Regions from separate parts of the Homo sapiens genome. Here region 1 is linked to region 2. Evidence: promoter capture Hi-C in 16 types of primary human blood cells and fetal thymus (Javierre and others, 2016). All regions are on one chromosome and are shown on one strand. The core of a region is centred on a gene start or on the middle of the fragment in contact, and the rest is flanking DNA. Distances in the headings are between cores, read along the strand shown. Region 1 overlaps LDB2 (LIM domain binding 2). Region 2 holds the start of LDB2 (LIM domain binding 2).

What was found. The method cuts DNA at HindIII sites, captures the fragments that hold promoters and counts their contacts. A CHiCAGO score of 5 or more calls a contact.
Region 1: a contact is called between a fragment that was not itself captured here and the fragment with the promoter of LDB2 in region 2, in 1 of 17 cell types (endothelial precursors). The highest score is 5.2, in endothelial precursors.

Annotation. Positions count from the first base shown.
Region 1 is chr4:16,766,481-16,771,014 of GRCh38, forward strand. All of the region lies in intron 1 of LDB2 (LIM domain binding 2), which reads right to left. Among named protein-coding and RNA genes, the nearest start is that of LDB2, 130 kb to the right of the region's middle. The HindIII fragment of the contact is 2,908 bases long and covers 1,277-4,184 here.
Region 2 is chr4:16,896,713-16,901,422 of GRCh38, forward strand. LDB2 (LIM domain binding 2) reads right to left here and starts at 1,933. Exons shown (of 8, transcript NM_001290.5): 1 at 1,642-1,933. The coding sequence starts at 1,773. The HindIII fragment of the contact is 2,891 bases long and covers 1-2,370 here.

The sequences.
Region 1 (4,534 bases), core at 1,481-3,980, 130 kb before region 2:
TGTGTGTGTGTGTGTGTGTGTGTGTATATATTTTTTTTTTTTTGAGACAGAATCTCGCTCTGTCACCGAGGCTGGAGTGCAATGGCGCAATCTTGGCTCACTGCAACCTCCACCTCCTGTGTTCAAGCGATTCTCCTGCCTCAGCCACGCGAGTAGCTGGGATTATAGGCGCCCACCACCACGCCCAGCTAATTTTTGTATTTTTAGTAGAGACAGGGTTTCACCATGTTGGTCAAGCTGGTCCTGAACTCCTGACTTCAGGTGATCCACCTGCCTCGGCCTCCCAAAGTGCTGGGATTACAGGCATGAGCGTGCTTGGCCCCAATTTATATATTGGGGTCTCTCTTTCCTTATATAAGCTACATACTAATGCACTGAATAGATATGCGGTAATACATTTTATTTAAACATTTTGCTACTAATAATCTCAGATAGTTCCTAATTTTTTGGTCATCCCAACAATGCTGCCATAAATGTCTCTGTAGTTTCCTTTTGTGTTTATATGTAAGAATTTCTCTCAGGCACATGCCTAAAGTGGATATGCCTAGACATAGGGTTTGTACCTGTCTATATTTTGGTCCTTTCATTAGGAGGTCCCTGTACTTTCATATTAAAAGCATCTGCATCTGGTCTGATTGATGCATGGGTAGAGATTCAAAGAGTACTGTTAAGCAGTATATTTCCAAGTGGGTTCTAGTAGCAAGAGCAGCTTAATGACAAAAACAGAGACTAGCTCTGCTGGGAGAAGGATGAATATCTAGAAGTCCAAAAAAGATGCAAAAATGGAGTAACACTACTAATAATACTCCAACTTTGCCGATCATTCTTTTAAAAGAGGAGTGTATATTAAGGCCTTCATTAACCAAAAGGAGGATTATTTCTTGACACAAGCATAGGAAAGAAAGCAAACGTAGGTTTTCCATGCCACTCCACAATGACTCATGGATCAGGAGGACTGAGTACCAAATGCCCGAACTCATGTGTAGATTGAGCTCTGTTGCACACTGCCACAGGGCTTCTGATCTGGGACACGTGTTTTCCCAACAGACAGCTACTTCCAATTCTTGCTGTTGTTTAGTATCTGAACTGTGTGTGGCGAGTGTTTAGTGAATATTAATAAGTAAAAAGTGAATTCTTTTCCCCAAAGCTAGAAAGTAACAATAGCATACAGCAGCCTCCAGGTAAATAAAGATGAAATTAACTCAGCCTGAACACAGACAGGGGAAGTGGTTGTTGACAATTCTTCCATATTTTAATTAGGAAAAAATATCATCAAAGCTTCTTTATTCTAAACAATCCCCTATATGCATTTGTGCTATTACAGTCCTTAGTCCTTTTGTCCCATCTCACAGGTGAACCCAAATTTCACCAGCAGCCTAATCATATATCAGGATGAGACACACAGTCATGTCAAATAGCAGAAGAGAGTCTTAATTATGTTTAAAAATCTACAGAAGCATTTTGCTTCCATCCTAGATTCTCTCCTGTTCCCAACCCTATCCCTCTTCACCAAAAACAGGATCCCGGTGCCAGGGCTGCCCCTCGGCATCTTTAACTTAAGCACTGACAGGTTACGTGGGATTTTTGCCAGAGTAATTATTTTTCAATTCAACAATAATGAGAAATTACCATGGCAACCACTTGTCATGTGGTACACATACACCCCCTCCAAAGAATGAACCATACTTAAAGCATCTATTCCTTGAAAATGTGTTTTTTTTTTATTAAAATAAACTTAAACAGGTCAAAGTGGAGAGCATTCTGAAGGGGTCTGAAAGATGGGAGATGGGAGGGCATTGACTTTCTTCAGTATCTTGTGGTTCTAGAAAAAAATGAGAATGTCTCATCTTATAACCCTACTCTCTTGTACACACACATTTAAATAACACTATTAATTTGTATCTTACTATTTTAGTCACTCCTGTTTTACATGCATCAGCTAACCTTTCTCAGAAGATACTGAAGAAAGGATAAATTTGCCTGAAATGACCGAGGCAGAAACACACTTGCTACACTTGCTCTGCCTACATTTCTTTTTCTGCCATATCCAGATATTAAGAAAGAAGACAAAAAAAAAATCCCAAATCTCATGCCTTCTGCCTTTCTGTTACCTAGAGTCCCTCTCACACTGTAGGAAGCTCAGGTCATTTGTTTTCCAAGACTGTAACTGTGTTTTTGATTCCTTAATCACAAGCCACCCTTTCTCCAAAACCAAGGGTCTATCTCGAACCATGTTTATTTTGAATCAGCCTCCCTTAATAATAATAGTCAACAGTTACAAGGCACTTATTGTATGCCAGTCACCCTTCTGAACTCATTGCACATTATAAACCCCTTAAAACCTCACCATGACCCTATAATATAAGTAGCATTATTAACCCCATCTTATAGATGAGAAAACTGAGGCACTGAGGAGTTAGATATTTGCTTAACATGACACAGCTATCAAATTGCCACGAAAGAGTTCAACCCCAAGGACTCTGGCTACTGGCTAGCAAGTTTAGACTCATGACTGCTCCATTATGATGTTCCTTTATTCAAAACAATATCTCTAAAATATCTGTCTTCTTAGTTGTTTCAACATCCAGTCAAGGCCAAGTGCACTGAACGTTTGGGTCTCTCTCTGGAACAGGCAGCCCAAAGCAAGGATTTCCATCACACCTATGGAATTCGGCTTGAAGACACACAAATAAAAGTAATAAGGTAAGACCATTTGCCCTTGCCAGCTGGTAGCTGCACAAGCATGAAAAGGATGCAGAGAGGGAATTTTAAATCTCCCCTTTTTTACTTATTTTTATGGGATTCTTTTTATTTTTTATTTTTATTTTTTTTTGAGATGGAGTTTCCCTCTTGTTGCCCAGGCTGGAGTGCAGTAGCACAGTCTCGGCTCACTGCAACCTCCGCCCCTTGGGTTCAAGCGATTCTCCTGCCTCAGGCTCCCGAGTAGCTGGGATTACAGGAGCCCACCACCATGCCCAGCTAATTTTTGTATTTTTAGTAGAAACGGGTTTCACCATGTTGACTAGGCTTCTCTCGAACTCCTGACCTCAGGTGATCCACCCGCCTCAGCCTCCCAAAGTGCTGGGATTACAGGTGTGAGCCACTGTGCCCAGCCCTATGGGATTTTTTTTTTTTTTTTCTTAAACAACTCATGTTCTAGAGACTGAATTTTTCTTCTCTAATTCTCAACTGTGATTTGCTCATTCTCAGCTAAATTGCATTTTATTTAACTGTAAGCATTAGTTATTATTTTAACTGAATTATAAAACGGCATACTACCAACATAGCAAATTGTGTGTTTTGAGAGAGCATCTCGGTGTTTCACTCACAAATCAAGCCCTCCCTTTTAGAAGGTGCTCACTATAGTTCCCTGTCTAGTGCCTGTGGATGCTGCCTTGAGAAAGTCGCATATTAAAATGTGCAGAAAGACAAGACTTGGTATCCAGTAGACACAGCTCTTCAGTAGAAGTTACATCAGTGGTTTTCCCCCCAAAGACCTGAGAAATTCATGTATTTGAATCTCCAGCTTTGATCCACAAAATCAGTAATTAATTCTGAGCAGTCCAAACAGAAATGTTAGTTAGAATAACTAAAAGCAATGACTCAAATGCCTCAGTGTGTATGTGCCAACAATTGAGCTTTTTTTGCTACCAGACTTATTACAAGTGTGATGAAATAATTTTTTTTTGAAGTTGGGATTCCTGTCAGCTTTTTGAGGGCAACATCTTACCCATGTCTGGTGTGTTTTACATGCACAGTATCTAACACATGGCAGGAAGACAACAAATAATTGCTCCATTATTTAATTATTTAAATCACTTAATTCAACAAATAAATATTTATTTAACTAAAACCCAGCATATTCTCAAAACCCAGAAGAAAACCAGCACTTTTAATTTTATGATAATTGAACACTGCCACTCTCTGCTCTATTTACATGTTTGTGAAACAGGGGCTTTGATTCTTTGATGACTGAATCAGTGAAAATGCACAGAGTTTCAAAATGTAGTATTTTCTAGTCCTCACAGGCTCTCTATCAAGTTGGTAATTTTCTTATCCCAATGTCAGTGGGGAAACTGAGGCCCCAAGCGGTTAAGAAATGTACCCAAGGTTACAAATCAAATAAGCGGCAACATTGGAATTTGCATCCTCTCTGACTCATAAATTTTTATTTCCATCCACAAAGCTTTACTCGCTGCCTGTTGCAATCTCTACTCTATACTATTCTAGTATGAAAGAGGATTGGTTGTTTTTTAATAACTAAATTTCCTATTTTATACTCAAACATGGAGACATGTACTCTCACAATCAAAAAGAATATACTGGGAACCCTATGCAAAGCCACTTTGAAAATGACGTGGAAAGGCATTACTCTAGAAGCACAGGTTTTGTTCATGACAGCTCTGTGGCAGTGAGCACCGCGCATCGTATTACATCACACCATCTAGGTGTGAGAGGTCCCGAGATGCAGGATAATGTCATGAGGCAGCAAGTCGTATATCTTGAGAAAAGTTCACTGTAAAATCAGGCACAA
Region 2 (4,710 bases), core at 683-3,182:
ATTAATGTGTGCCTGAACTATAAGACATTTTCTATCCTCCTAATTATGAAAGCAGCCTGTGTCAACCAATGGTTTATGCAGAGATTTAAGATTCCAACACACAGTTGCAAAGATCTGAAGGAAATATACAAACTGTTACACACACAAAGCAACATACACAAAACAGCAAGCACAAATATCAGTCACTGCCAACAGTTCACTATCCTAAGCAAAACATAGTTTGCACTTCTATAGAAGCTACTGGCTTCTAGAAAGAGCAAGAGTACCAGCAGTCATATTTAGCGTCTATGGTGTATTAACATATAAAGAAAACAGCAGTCATTAAAGACAACCCAGCTTTTAAAATACATATAAGTCCTTGTCCAGCAGTTAGCCAATCAGAAAGCAGGTCACATCTTGTTAGCTGTATTAAATACACGAAACGTCATGAATTCTCTATGGCTCTGTTGACAATTCAAGCCAACTGTGTTTTATCCCATAGCACAAACTTAATGGAGTCCCTTCCTAGAGTTAAAAGTCAATCTTCAATCTAAAATTCCACCAGAGCTATTCCCTAAAAGCTCTTTGGCATAAATCTTGTGGTATTTATACTCTGCAGAGAAGACTAAATTCCTAGCAATTTCCACTTCCTAAAGTGACTTTGGTGCACCTATAACAAACTCCTTTTCCGAACACTTCCACACAAAGCCCCAACTTACAGGCAGATGGACAATCCAGCAGCAAGACCTGCCAGCTGAGCTAGCACAGAGAAAAAGTCAACTGACATAAAATATTTAAATTGCAGGAGGCGAGTCTGGAGTTTTGCATTTAAAAAGTTCTGAAAGTCCTGTTCTCTCTGCTCCCAGAGTTGCTGGCTGCCTAGGAGGCTGAGTCTCCCTCTCTCAGGCACAAGATCTCAAATATGCAAAAACTAGAGCTGACTTGAAAGCTGAACCAGCTCCTGTCCTAAGGTAGAGTGATAGGGGGGCACGGCCGACAGCAATAGGAGAAAGTCTAGAGTCCCCTTGCCCCAAGCAACTGGTTTCTGATTTTAACACTGAAATATACAAACATGTGTCCCTCCAGGGCTAGTTCTGAGAAGTAGGCAGGTTTACTCTTCTGCCCCTTTTTACCTCGATTTTGGTGACTCTGAAAAGTAAATACAGGTCAAAGCAGACTTCCTCTAGGATTTGTAAAAAAGAAAATATATATATATATATATATATATATATATATATATATATATACACATATGTATATATATATATATATATATATATATACACATATGTATATATATATATAGCCAGATGCAAACAATCACAAAATTCCTTGGAATTATATCTCAAGAAACACCAACAGGACTGACTCAGAGCCTGTAAAACACCAGAGTTCTGGAAGAGCAACATTTCTGGAAACCCGGCATGTGAATCAAGTGCTGGGTTGTCTCAAGATTCCGGCAGAAACTGTCCTCTGCTACAAGAGTTGCTGTGCCTGGAAACCCAGCGTCCAAACTCGTGGATTCATCCTGGCGCTCATTTCCACGTACGTGGTAGTATCAAGTGGGACACTTCCCATAGAATTCAGCCAGAAACCCTAGGAAAAGCTCATGCATAGCTTAACAAAAATACACAAACACATCCCCAAGGTTGAAGTACTTACCTCTGTGCGAGACTGCAGTCTCTTGTTCATCTCATAGATTCGGTACTCTGGCTGTACCATGTATGGTGTATGCCTCCTATAAAATGGGCCGAAAGGAGAAGAATAGAAGGGGTCATGTGGTGTGCTGGACATCTTGCCTGCTTTTCGAAAATCAAGCTAAACAGAGTATCAGTAACGTCCATGCAGAGCACATGGGCTGTGTTCTTCCCAGTACAAAGTAGACGCACGCACACACGCTCACACACACACAGAGGCAGGCAGGCAGGCAGGCTGAACACGCTGGCTGGGAACTGCTGTCGGAGCCCTCTATAGCAGGAGAGGAGAGGGAGAGGAGAGGAGGGAGGGAAAGAGGGAGGGAGGGAGGGAGCACGGGAGAGGAGGGAGAGGGAGAGAGCAGGAGCTCCAGAGAGGGAGGGAGGTTGGTATGGAGGAAGGGAGGGAAGAAGGGAGGGAGGGAGGGAGGGAGGAGGGAGGGAGGGAGGGGGAGAGAGAGAGAGAGAGAGAGAGAGAGAGAGAGAGAGAGAGAGAGAGAGAGAGAGAGAGAGAGAGGAGCTGGATAGCTTTAGGCACCACTGCTTGTTTTTAAAGAAGCAGTTTGTGGAGAGGTCATTTCCTGTCCACATTGTAGACTAGTTCACAAATATAATTCTCCTCACAGTCTGACAAGAGGTCTAAGGTTTGGTTTTAATTTTTTTCCTCCAGCCAGGACCCTTCACAACCTGATTGCTAAGCTTGTTAGCATAGAGGTGGTCTAACCGCTACATGAGCCGCTCACCCCTGACAACCACACTGTTGTAATGTATCAGAAATGTTGATTACTACAAAATACAGAAACACGGGCACTGTGGTGCCCCGAATTGGGACCGGTGATTCACTCACATGCAGAGATTTATTTCAGCACTAATCTCCCTATGTAGTTTTGCTTTACTTGCTGTTGTTCCAAGGGCTGTTATATTCTTTGCCCTCCACTCCATCTCACTCCCATCTCTCCCCACTCACCCCTCTTCCCAGCCACCTCCCTCTTCTCCAAAGACTTCATTCAGGCCCTTAAGGTGCCTGGGCATTTTCAGGTAAAAACAGTCGTTCTGAATGTGGAAGGTATAAAATACACTTAAGGAGAGCAATGGTCTTTTTTCCCAGGAAGGAAAAACAAACAAACAAACAAACAAAAAACCCAAACAGACCTCCCAATAAGACAGGAAAAGCAAAGAAGGAGAAAACTGCCACAAAAATGACCACGGAAAATTTGGTTGAGAAGGAAATTGCAAATAATTGAATGGATCATCCCCAGATAACATGTCCAACTCTTATGGAGACAAAGTCTGTATTTTCCAAGATTGGTCAAGTAAACAAATATTTTCCCAACTGTGGTATATGATAACCATAAGAAATCCCAACAGCCCATGGAAGGGGAAAATCTCTATAGAGAATTAAACAATCTATAAAATAATCAAATTCTGCTAGAACCCACTATAACCAGAGATACGACACTTAAACAAAGCCCAGCCACACAAAATTTAAATGTATTGAGCTAACACCTAGGTAGGTCAGTGGTATTAAGGAAATAAAGCAAAGGACCACCAAAAAGCATAATGAATTCAAGACCTGAATGCAAATGCATGCAAATGAGACATTTCTTCTTTTTAATAAGCAGATTAATTAACTTTCTGCCCCAATCATGGCTTGGGTATCTCCAAGTCACTAGCCAACAGGGGATAGAGTATTGCTAATTCTGCAATTTACACTCTTAAAAATACTCAGACACAGAAAAGTGTATTGCTGTCTTGATCAGTCCTTCTTCATAATTGCATGAAATATTTGCTGAGTCCACCCCAAACTTCCAGCAGCGCAGCCTAACACACTAATGTCGCTTCCCAGGATGAGATTAGGGTAGGTATTACACTAAGGCTGCTTGGAACTTGCGCTAGGAGACCCCAAGGCAGGCGAGAATGCTTGGTTTCAGGTTTCATTACAAATCCGAAAGCTGGACCAAATTTGCTGCAAGGTTTGTCAAAACACACAACCTTCTAAAGACAGGATTTCAAACAATTTTGGCATGATTTACGTTTTGGTATGGCAGCCACTGCAAAACCTAATGGTTCCTTATGTTTAAACTCTCAAACTAAAGACATTCTGAAAGTTTAGTGTCTGCCTGAGTTTGTGTTAATGTGACCATTTCAGTGCAAGAATGAAAGTAACACCTAGGCAGGCCTGTGCAGGCCAATAGTAACAAAAAAAAATGAAACAGTTCAAAAATCCATTTAGGAAGGGAATCCCTCTCTGAATAAGGTTCTGGTTTGCTCTCATTTGTTTCTGCAGACCATTGCCAATTATAATTGGAAATATTTCTTGCCATTAATAGTGAAAGACTCTCATTTCAGAACTATCTGAAACTTGATAATGCTGATCCATATCCCTGATTCTCATCCCCGTTATTTCAGGAGTCTCCGAACTGGTCCCCCTGCCCACAGATTCACAGTCCTCTTCTAACTTGTGGTCTGTCCTTATTCAAATGAGAATGTGGATTTCAGATAAGTGAAAGCGATCATGTCCCATGTTTTCCCCCTCAGTGTTTCCCTGCTGCCAGAAGGAAAACGTGCAAGTTCCTTAGGAACATGGCATACAGGGCTCGGTAAGACCCGCACTTCTGTGCTGTCTCTTTCTCCCTCTGTCACATACACACACACACTCACACACACTCATTCATTTACTCATTTGTGTGTTCATTCATTTATTTATTTGCTATACTTGATCTTCCTAAACTTGCAATCTTTCTTATGCATGGCCACATTTGTACTTCTGGCCCTAGTTTACCTACAAACTGCTACTTATCCTTCTATTAAATTAAATTGTCTCCTCCATAAATCTTTTTAAATTACACATTCATTTGTTTATTTATTCAACAAATATTCCATTCACAGTGGATAGAGGCAGAGCCAACAGCAGGGCCAGAGCACGTTTCAACCCTAGCTCCACCATCTAGTTGTCGCGTGAACCTGAGCAAAGGACTCAGTCTCTCTGCACCTCAGTTATCTCATTGCAAGATGAGGACAATGATAGAAACTAGTC